4 separate regions of the Homo sapiens genome follow, and all the other regions are linked to region 2. The links are contacts of gene promoters, found by promoter capture Hi-C in blood cells and fetal thymus (Javierre and others, 2016). All regions are on one chromosome and are shown on one strand. The core of a region is centred on a gene start or on the middle of the fragment in contact, and the rest is flanking DNA. Distances in the headings are between cores, read along the strand shown.

Region 1 (2,700 bases), core at 161-2,660, 8.7 Mb before region 2:
TGGTTGGGCGTGGTGGCTCACGCCTGTAATCTCAGCACTTTGGGAGGCCGAGGCAGGCGGATCACCTGAGGTCGGGAGTTCAAGACCAGCCTGACCAACACGGAGAAACTCTGTCTCTACTAAAAATACAAAATTAGCCAAATGGGGTGGCACATGCCTGTAATCCCAGCTATTTGGGAGGATGAGACAGGAGAATCACTTGAACCTGGGAGGCGGAGGTTGCAGTGAGCCAAGATTGCGCCATTGCACTCCAGCCTGGGCAACAAGAGCAAAACTCCATCTCAAAAAAAAAAAAAAAAAAAGTGTGGCTGGATGCTGTGGCTCATGCTTATAATCCCAGCACTTTGGAATGCCAAAGCAGGAAGATTGCTTAAATCCTGGAGTTCAAGACCAGACTGGCCAACATAGCAAGACCCCATCTCTACAAACAAGTTTTTTTTTAATTAGCTGGGTAGGGTGGCACACACCTGTGGCCCCAGCTACTTGGGAGACTAAGAAGGCAGGAGGATCACTTGACCCTAAGGGGTAGAGGCTGCAGTGAGTTGTGATCACACCACTGCACTCTAGCCTGCACAGCAGAACAAGACCCTGTCTCTAAATAATAAATGAAAAGGTAAATTTTATGGTATGTGATTATATCTCAGTAAAAGTGTGATTTTTTAAAAAGTCAATGAATCTTAAACAAATAAGCAAACAAAAGCTTAGTCAGGTCTCAGGTGATGCTACACTACTACCCAAACAGATTCATTTCTAAAAAGCAAGCAGCGTAACAAGAGCAGCCATTTATGTGCTTACTATGTAAGGAGCTTTACCTAACAATACTGTTTGTTAAACTTTTCATCTCATTTTATTTGCACAATGACCTTATAAAGTATGTATGATTACCCTTTGTTTAGGAAAATGAGAAAACAGGCTCTCAGGGATGGGATAATTTGTTCAAGGCTCACACAGCTAAGAAGGGGTAAGGCAGGAGTTCTAACCCAGAGAGCCATCTGACTCCAAAGTTCAGGATAGCCACGTTCCCACTATGTTCATCAAAAAAAACAAGAATGAGCCAGGCGCTGTGGCTCACGCCTGTAATCCCAGCACTTTGGGAGGCCGAGGCGAGCAGATTATCTGAGGTCAGGAGTTCGAGACCAGCCTGGCCACCATGGTGAAACCCTGTCTCTACTAAAAATACAAAAATTAGCTGGGTGTGGCAGCGGGCGCCTGTAATCCCAGCTACTCGGAGGCTGAGGCAGGAGAATCACTTGAACCTGGGAGGCAGAGGATGCAGTGAGCCGAGACTGCACCACTGCACTCCAGCCTGGGTGACAGAGCGAGACTCCAGTGCAAAAAAAAAAAAATGCTGAGAAGGATTTTAGCTGAGTCTAAAACAAGTACTGGCAGGGCTCTGCTAACCACGCTGCTGCTCACTCCTTCTTCTGCAATAGTTATTTTTCCCTAATGGGTTTTTGTCTGTGTTGGAAGGAAGTCTTTTCTTCCACCAACTATGTTGTAGTGTGTGTTTGGGGCTTGGGGGACTGCAAATTAATTGATGATAGACAGATCCACAGAAGAAAAGACAAGGATTATTTACACATGCATGGGGGAGTACTCAGTAAAGGGTAATCCCTGGCAAAAATAGCCAGGGGTACGTGTGACTGCATCAGTTTAACAAAAGGGAATGGTGGTTAAGGCTTCATTGGGAATGTATGGAAGATTCTATTGGGCTTTTTTATTCTGATGCTAATGTACAGTCTTCTTTCTGGCTGGAAGCTGAATTAGACCAAATCTGGGGATTCTCCCAAACCTGAAGGGGGGTTAATGGCAGTCGTATTTTGGGAGGCTCTGCTTTAGTCAGATCAGGGAAGTCCAGATATGATTTCTATCTGCATCTGCTGTAGCTCAAATGGTTTCAGTTTAAAATAAACTTTTTATCTTTCTGAGGGTTTCTTGGTCCCTTCATTTGTTTGTTTCTGCTTTTACTATATTCCCAGACATTCTCAACATTATTGCAAAGATTTTTTTTTTCTTGCTTTAGGTGCTGCTTGGAAATGTCCTTGTCCCTAGATATCTTTAATAAAAGGTTCTTGGGCTCCAGAGCCCGAAAAAGCTCTGGGTGGTATTTTGCCTGCAACCAAAGCTTGACGTCAAAATTTGCACACGTGTTGTAGGATCATTTACTCTGTGTCTCCAGCCCCTACTCTTTTCTTGGTGTTCCTGAGTTATACTTCAGAACAGAAAAATATCAATAGGTTTAGATCTTAGTTCCACATTTGGCTCCCAGCCCTGCTCTAAGGCCCACCTCAGCTGAATTAAGGAGTGAGGTTTGAACTCATCAGCGGATTCTCCTTGGGTCCAGCTGCCCTCCTTTCCTCCTTTTTCTCTCCTCTGCAGGAAGGAAGGCTGCTTCCCCCTCCCCTATTCCTAAGGACTACTTCCCACCTCTTCCCTTCCCTCCACCCCCCCAGCTGCCTTTCTTATGGCTGCCAGGTTGCCATGCCAATAAGGTTCCCATGGTTACTAGGAAGAGCTGCTGCATTCCCACAGGCAGCTTTTATCTACCAAAAGAGAAAGGGAAACTAAATTGCTCCTAGGGAAAGAAAAAAAAAAAAAAAAGGGAGGGGAGGGACAGAGTTGGTCTTAGCCCAGGAGATCCTGCAAAAGGGGTCTTGTTAACTCTGGTATCTCCAGGCTGGACCTTGAACCAAATCCTGC
Region 2 (2,700 bases), core at 24-2,523:
AGCACCTGTCACTGAGGTCTATCTGAAGCTACTTAATGACTATACTGCCTCTGAATTTAGTCAAAGTCCCTACATCAATTGTCATTAAATACCATTTATGGCTGTCTAATGCTCTGAACCCAGCATACCTTCCTAACCTAGTTTCCTAATGGCCCCTTAGGAGTTAACAGGCCCACTGCAAACACCACATATTGATAAATAACTGCAATGTGCTGTAGTATATCTGGAACCCCTGTCATTCCCAAAAGAGGTACTTTCTGTACCTTCCAATGTTCCTCCTCCTCCATCCACTTAGAATGCCATCCATCTTTGTGATTATAAAAACGACATCACGTTTTCTTAGTACTAAACTTTGCCCGTGGAAAGTCTCCCATTCTTCAAGGCTGGGCTCAAATTCCACATCCTTCTCGAGGCCTTCCCCGTGATTCCTCCCTCCATAAACTTAACAATCCATTTTCCTGAACCCCATCACATCTGTTTGCAGTTCACCCGCAAGCAGGCGCTTTATATTCTTTAGCACGCCACCTGGTATCTCAAAGAGTCTTTGTGCACAACAACCATTGCCTGAATAAACAAGAAAAAGGAACTGTAGGTAGGAGCTTGGTGAGACAAGTAAAGAAGATGGAGAGTGATTAAGGATAATGGAGTAAAAATATCACAAAGGGTTCTCAAAAAGCAGGGAGTGAAAAATGAGTACTAAACAGGCTCTTCGAGAAAAGTTTTTTCTTGGGCTGCCTTTGTGCAGCCTAGGGGCAGCTCACCTGAACCAGAAGTCCCAGCCAGCCTCTTCCGGGGTCTCGACATGGTCACGCTGCAGGGGACTTTAGTGCGGACGATTCTGGAATCAACGGAGATACAAGAAAGAATGCTAATGTCCTCCAAAACCCGCGCAGAGCGAGATGGAGGCAACGAGAGGCAGCCTAGAACGTCTCCAACTTTTGCGAAACACAGACGCCTACGTTTGAGCCCTCAAATCCTTCCCTCCGTTATCTGCGCCATTTCCATCTCGCATAACCTGCCCCTAAACTCTTCTCGGTTCTGTCCTTGGTCCTTCTCATCCAGGAACCCCTATCTCAGTATGTAGTTCACTGGGAAGTGGCTCCACAGAGACACTTTTGTTGGGTGAATATAAGTAAGCCTTGTGTTACCTTGTTATCCTTGCTAATTAGGATCAACTGAATGGATAATCTAGATGATGAAGTAATTTGCTGGCTACAGACCCAACACTCTGCAGACTCGACTGCGGTCCGCCTCCGCTGCGCCGCAGGCTGTGCAGCGCGACCCCCGCGGCGCTTGGTGGGCGGTGCATCTCTGCGGCGCCGAGGCCCCGAGGACTTCTGGGAATTGTAGTCCTGTCCCCTTGGGAGCCCGCCTGGCACCTGGGTTGTTAGGGCTCGTGGGAGGACTACAACCCCCAGGGTGCAGTGGGACAGGCGTTGCCGGGTCGCAGGTCCCGCCAGTGCGAGCGCAACGGAGGTCGAAGGCGTTCAGACTCTTAGCTGAACGCGGAGCTGCGGCGGCTATGCTGTGGAGCGGCTGCCGGCGTTTCGGGGCGCGCCTCGGCTGCCTGCCCGGCGGTCTCCGGGTCCTCGTCCAGACCGGCCACCGGAGCTTGACCTCCTGCATCGACCGTAAGGATCTCCTGGCGGGCAGTAGGACAGGTGTCCAGAACCCCGGCGGACATATGTCCGCGAGGGGCTGCAGTCTCCCCGTTCCATCCAGTCACCCCGGCGTCAGCTCCCCTTCCGGCCAGTCACCCCCCCGGCCTGGCTCCCTACTCCGGCCGGTCACCCCCGGCCTGGCTGCCCCCTCCGGTCGGTCACCACCATCCGGGTCCCCATCTGGCCCGTCACCCCTGCCCGGGTCCTCCTCCGGCCGGTCACCCCCGCCCCGGTCCTCCTCCGGCCGGTCACCCCCGCCCCGGTCCTCCTCCGGCCGGTCACCCCCCGCAGGTTCCCCTCCGGCCGGTCATCCCCCCGCAGGTTCCCCTCCGGCCCGGGTCCTCCTGCGGCCGGTCACCCTCGGATGCTTAGAGAAGTGAAGAAACTTGGGGCTTGGTTGTTGTTGGGTTGGTTGGTTTTTAATCATAACAGTAGGTCATAAAAGCAGTGAGAATATAAGAAGCTGGCTGGGTGCTGATGGTGACAACTGCACAAGAACTCCAGGTCATACAAGATTTGCTCACACACAAAGATTTGGTATCTTAACACCTCTGGCTATAAGACACTTTTAGTGTTGAAACTCATGCAGGAAAAATAATTATTATTGCCAGTGGGAAACTCTACCAGAGCTGACAAACTTGAGTGTCTTTAGGCTCTGAACAGTAATTTGAATGTAGCGAGGAGTGGTGGAGACCCGGCCAGTTTGTGACTTCTCTGCCAAGAATGTTTATAAACACTTTTTTCTTCTGAAATATTTTTAAATTTATTTTAAATAAATGGCAGTTTTCTTTACAACAGAATAAGTCCCTTAGATATCAGATCTATAAAGTACAGTAAGGCATAGAATACTGTTTTCTTCTGAATGTCCTAAAACTCATTCAAGAGGTGCTGCCCTGGCCTAGCGCTTAGAATTTGATAACCCAGATTACCCTGGTTGATACCGAAGCAGATAAGGAATTATTTAGAGGTGGGTTTTGTTATTGTTTGCATCTTGCTTACACTTGAGTGGCTCTGCAGTCAAAGGCTTTTCCCATTTCAT
Region 3 (2,700 bases), core at 171-2,670, 8.2 Mb before region 2:
GTTTATGGAATTGTAACTGAAGGTAATTATACCTTCAAGTAGTGAATAAACCCAGTTCTGTGAATAAAAATGAGGTCATGGTTGTTTTCCTAAGATAGCCATTGGGATCTGATTTTCTAGTAATGTAGGAAGAAGTGTTATTTTCTTTTTTCCCCCAAAGACTGTGTATCCAATGTGCCAATAAAATGAATTATTATGAATTTCAAACCGCACAAAAGACTCTACAACAATTTACAAAGCATGAATTAGTACTGTATACATAAATAAATGTTATTCAATAACATGAATAAATCTCACAGGCTTATGTCTATTACAATGCTCATTATTGAGCAGTGCAAGAACTCCAACATAAGACTACATACTGTAGGAGTCCATGTTCATACAGTTCACGAACAGGCAAAACTCATCTATTCCAACTCTTCAGAATAGCTGCTGCCTGCTAGCAAGAGGGAGGGCTGCCTGGGATGGGCACCAGGGAGCTTTCTAAGGCCAAGGAAATGTTCTATATCTCCATCTGGGTACTGGTTACCACAGACATGTGCATATGTAACAATTCATCTAGCTGTTCACTTAGTATACATTAGCTGTACACTTGTGATATTACTATGTTACACCTCAACTGGAAAAAAATTACACACAATGTCCAAGTGCCTTCTAAGTTTCAGCTGCAAATTTAAGAAAGCTGTATTGTTTCACGTGCCCGCACTATTACTAGCTTCTGAGAAATACATGTACACTTACATATACAGGAGGAGTTAATAAAAATAACAGCAGCTAACATTTACAGAGGTTTTACTATATGCCAAGTGCTTGACTTTCATTATCTCATTTAATCCCACAACAATGGTAAGACATAATTTCTGTTATTATACCCATTTTACAGACAAAGACCCCCAAGGCTTAAGTCAAGATCATTGCCCAGGCTCACATAAATAACAAGAAGTGAGCTGGTCTACAACAAGAATAGCTGAAAAGCAAGCTCTATGTCAGCGTCCAAATTCTCTGTTTGTATTAGGGTAACATAAAAATAAAATTGGCCTCACAGTTCCAAGTAACAAAACATAAACAAAATATGTAAGCTAAGTTCAGTAATATAACCCATATATTTTTTCTCGAGTAAGATGAAAGGCACATCAGTGGCTCTTAAGCACTGGAGTCCCTACTCACATTCCAACAGATATACAGCAGAACAAAATGTTCTTTGGGCTAGTTTTTTTATTCTCTCTGGCCATCAAAATATACCGCACAGCAAAGCGACTAAACAGCTGTGAATGCGGACAGGCACAAACTGCAGTGTTTACTCCAATTCATTCAAGGGTCCTTTCAATCTGGCCATAGTAGTAGGAGAAATGCCCAGGATTAAGGTGGAAAAAAGCTAAACATATCTTCAAAAAGGCTTCTTTATTTTCTGAACACACTGTATTGTGAGGAGAACTTGGTAGAGGGCTACATGGGAGTAGGACGGAAAAGACTGTGCACTATTTACAACACGACTTTACTTGGAAACAAAATATATCAAATGAACCATCAAATATGCTACTGCATTCTGCATTAGCTGAAAACCAGGAGCATTGGAATTCACATTCTTGGTAGATGAAAACCAATTAACTACACCATCCACCATTCAGAACTGGTCTTCCTTGAAAAGTACACAAGAAACAAACTGGGCTAATATTCTGAAAAAAAGTTTGTGCCCAAACATTATTTGAGGCAGGGGAAAAGGGACTTGGGAAGGAAGACACACTAATGTTTCTCAAAAATTTTGCTCCAAAGATTTTACAGAATGTTTTTGGCAGATAGATTTTCATTTACTTGGCGCTGCTAGCAAGTCTGCAAAGTAATGCCTCAGAAACACTAGAAATGATACAATTCTTAAAAAGACAACAGAAAAGACATAATCTAAATTAGAATTCTATAATAATAATAATGTAACAGAAACAATCAAATTCTATCAATAGTAAACTAAAATATGCCTATTAAAACAAGCATTTCATCACTGCAAAACCATTTGTTTCACATGAAGTCTGATTTTGCTCTCAGTTTGAAAGTTATTAAAACGATACATCAGCCTTTACAGGCAAGACCAAACAGTAAGATAATTTTACATATTTATCAAAAGATCATTCAAAGAAAACTTACCAAGTCTGCAACGTGTATATGCTTGTGCTTCGGAGGGAAAGCAGAGAAGCCACTTTCTGTACTTACACTGGAGTTCACTTCAGTGCTGAAAACACATCACTGTAGTCCTGCTTGTAATAAAGTCCGGACTAGCAATCTGCCTTTGGGTTGGGCTTTTCTCTTACAAGATAAGCTGTTAAGTCATGCCTTGATTTTAGATCTGCCAACATATGGAGTCTTCTAATGTAGCCTTCCCTCCACCCCCTCAACCCCCCCTGCCCGCATCCCCCCAATCCCCGCTCTGCTCCACTCCCTCTGCACACACACACATACACACATACAAAAAAGGCACTGCAGGGCAGAAATTCCTCAGGTGCTCGCTAATGGAATTCCCAGGGTCTTGGAGCCGCTTCGGGGATCAAGAGATCTCATAGCCCCCGCTGGGGTAAGGAGCAGCGAGTCTGTTCCATTTAATCAAATACAGAATGAATTTTCAGCTCTATTCACTAGCTTGTCTCCAGGGCTCTCAAAAGGCACCAGGCAGCTAGAATCACACACATGTGGCTCTTTTAGGCAAGTATA
Region 4 (2,700 bases), core at 107-2,606, 8.0 Mb before region 2:
CCTTGTCTTTGTGAACAACTATCTCCGTATCTCCCCAAAAAGCATTACCTTCTTCTAGCTAAAATGGGCCTTTTCCCTCTTTCACAAATGCATTTTTTAAATCAATCTTTCCTGATTCACTTCAGCTGTCCCTGACAACTACATGCAACATCTGTTGAAAGACATTTGAAGGTCCACTAAATTCCAGTCACTCTGGGGTTGTATGTTACATATACTCCAACATACATACACACACACACACACACACACACACACACCCCCTTTTTTCTTATGTATCATTTTCTCATTCCCAGTTCTGATGGAAGATAACCTTTAGTCTAGAACCACACAGCCTTTGTATATCTCTACAGCGATCCCTGTAGTCTGCACACAGCGTATTCTACGAATTGCTTACTGTCAGATGTTTAGAAAGGGAGGACTGTCTTATTTATTTATTTCTGTGTTCTCGGTGGTTCCTTATATTGGACGGTAGTTTACAAAAGTTTAATTAATTTGAATGCAAGGCTTTAGAGTGCACCACAAGTAACGTCTCAGTTTTCCTCGGTTGTAGCAGAAAGCAGCTGCAGGTTCCTCCACCTTTCCCGCGTGGTCCTTACCATGCACAGGGAGACCGTAGGGCTTATTGATGACCACAAGGTTCTTGTCCTGGTGGAGAATTCCTCGGGTCAGTGCCTTAGCAAGCACGTTGGGGTGGACTCGCTGCAGCTGCCGTGTGAACCGCACTATTTCTTGCACTCTCCGCTGAACAGCGTTTGTGGACACCTAGGGAGAAAGAAGGAGCCGTGGGGAATGCCTGGTGCGGAAGCCGTGGAGAAGACCTTCCATAAAGGTCTGGGTGAGAATCTGAGTAGGGAATGACTATCTTTGCATCAGACCCGCGCCGCCTTCGACTAATTTGAGAGCAGAGATACCCATCTGTCTAACCTGCGTACCGACGCAGTGGTTAGGACTGAGCCTGACAGTAGCCAAAGATCCAGCTCACGGGAAAACACCGTACCCTTACTGACCCCTCCCCTCCGCCTTCTCCCCATTCTCCCACCTTGCGTCCGGGCTATTGACTCACACGCTTTCACTCAGAGGACCCTCCTACCTACTCCCCGTCTGGGAAACCAATGAGCGCACTGCCTCTAGGGAGTTCTGGTCCCTTTGGACTCACCGGCTCCTTCTTTGTGTCTTGTTCCCGTTTCTGGGCTCGGAGCTTCTCCGCTAATCTCTGGGCATTTATGGCCGTAGAGGCAGCGGCAGCGGCACAAAATGGCTTTGAGACGAGAGTGAAGAGACTCCCGCAACCTTGGCCGTTTCCCCGGATCCAGGGGCCCGACGCGCTCCACCTGGGCGCCGCCATCTTACAAGGAAGGGCGGGGCGAGCCAAGACCACGTGGAGAAGGGCGACTACAATGAGGCGGGAGTGGGTGGGCCCTGCAGGTCACGTGGTGCGGGGTGGGGCCTGGGCGAGTCACGTGGGGACGGTGCGCGCTCAGTGCGGCTGCGCCGGCCGGTAGCTGCAGCTGGAGCAGTGGCGTTTGGAGGAGACTCGGTGAGTGTGTAGGGAAGCCGGGCTGGGGCTGGGAAATGCCGGTGCCTCAACGGTTTAACGTTTTCTGCGTCCCCGGGATTTCCGTTCAAGAAGAGCACTGGTCTGAGAAACGTTTCTCCTTTTGGTACACGATCCCACTCAAAAACTCCTCCCCGCCCCCGCGCCCCCTTAGGAGCGATGTCCCATAAACGCTCGCCCCAGAGCCCTCCTAGGCACCGACGCCGTCCCTCTTAGCCACTGAATCTCCGGTGATCCGCCAGTCCCCTGCGGGACGCGTCGGGGACCCTCTTGATCGGATGCCCGGATCTCTGTAGTCTCTCCACCCTTCATCTTCCAACTCCCAGCCTCTTTGTTTCGCGTTGTAACCTGTACCCTTCTCCTAAGGATGACGGCCCCTTCCCTTATCCAGGGCCCCCAGCACCTATTTCCTACTTAGGAAGCACTGTGAGTGTTTTTTCTGCCCTTCCTCAAGAATTCATTTCTTGGGGGTCTCCTCCCTACCTTCCCTACTCCTCCTAAAGAAAAAGCTGAAAGAACGGAGCACAGACCTTCACTTTTCCTGTTTCCTTTATTTTTCCTCTCCATAGTTTGCAACCACACCATACCTCCTCTCACGAGATGCGATGTTGGGATTCCCTTGCCCGAACTGCAGGCGACTCCCTCTGATTTCACTCAGGGGTGGCTGGGAAGATAAACATCTGTTTGGGATGGTAGTGTTAAAAATAACTTGGGATATACCTGCCATTTGTTAAGAGGAAAGCTTATGCTGAGTTCAGAAAGAATGTCCTGAAAACTAATGGATCTGTGACGATAGAAGGAACAATTTTTTAAGACTGCTTGGAATGAAGGCTGCCTGAGGAGTTATTAGAGAATAGGTAGTTGAATTAGATTTGGGTTCTACACCTCCTAAAGGGTTTGGCAGAAGGGAGCCGTACCAACAAGAAACAAAGTTGATCAGGTGGAGCTACTCATAGAAGACTCAAGTTGAAGAGTTTGAACTAGAGGTGATACGTAGTGAGGAGTCTTTGAAGCTTTTCGAGTAGGGCAGAGAGACTCCTTGAAAGTGGAATTCTGGAAATGAATCTGGCAGTTGAATGCAGGACAGATGGGGAAGGAAAGGGTTTGATAGTGGGGAAGGAAAGGGTTTGATAGTAGGAAAACTA

The links. The method cuts DNA at HindIII sites, captures the fragments that hold promoters and counts their contacts. A CHiCAGO score of 5 or more calls a contact.
Region 1: a fragment that was not itself captured here is called in contact with the fragment with the promoter of THYN1 in region 2 in 1 of 17 cell types (monocytes); the score reaches 6.2 in monocytes.
Region 3: a fragment that was not itself captured here is called in contact with the fragment with the promoter of THYN1 in region 2 in 1 of 17 cell types (naive CD8 T cells); the score reaches 6.3 in naive CD8 T cells.
Region 4: the fragment with the promoter of RPUSD4 here is called in contact with the fragment with the promoter of THYN1 in region 2 in 4 of 17 cell types (monocytes, M0 macrophages, total B cells and 1 more); the score reaches 12.4 in monocytes.

The regions. Positions count from the first base shown.
Region 1 is chr11:125,514,843-125,517,542 of GRCh38, forward strand. No RefSeq gene overlaps it. Among named protein-coding and RNA genes, the nearest start is that of FEZ1, 20 kb to the left of the region's middle. The HindIII fragment of the contact is 1,425 bases long and covers 699-2,123 here.
Region 2 is chr11:134,252,079-134,254,778 of GRCh38, forward strand. It overlaps THYN1 (thymocyte nuclear protein 1), which reads right to left and starts at 1,274. Exons shown (of 7, transcript NM_014174.3): 1 at 762-1,274. The coding sequence starts at 804. ACAD8 (acyl-CoA dehydrogenase family member 8) reads left to right here and starts at 1,490. Exons shown (of 11, transcript NM_014384.3): 1 at 1,490-1,631. The coding sequence starts at 1,523. RefSeq lists an enhancer at 1,035-1,404. The HindIII fragment of the contact is 5,608 bases long and covers 1-2,700 here.
Region 3 is chr11:126,057,094-126,059,793 of GRCh38, forward strand. The region is part of intron 1 of CDON (cell adhesion associated, oncogene regulated); the gene reads right to left. Among named protein-coding and RNA genes, the nearest start is that of CDON, 4.4 kb to the right of the region's middle. RefSeq lists an enhancer at 67-2,700. The HindIII fragment of the contact is 7,089 bases long and covers 1-2,700 here.
Region 4 is chr11:126,210,294-126,212,993 of GRCh38, forward strand. It overlaps RPUSD4 (RNA pseudouridine synthase D4), which reads right to left and starts at 1,357. Exons shown (of 7, transcript NM_032795.3): 1 at 1,157-1,357; 2 at 597-762. The coding sequence starts at 1,345. It overlaps FAM118B (family with sequence similarity 118 member B), which reads left to right and starts at 1,489. Exons shown (of 9, transcript NM_024556.4): 1 at 1,489-1,537. RefSeq lists an enhancer at 1,142-1,371. The HindIII fragment of the contact is 5,382 bases long and covers 1-2,295 here.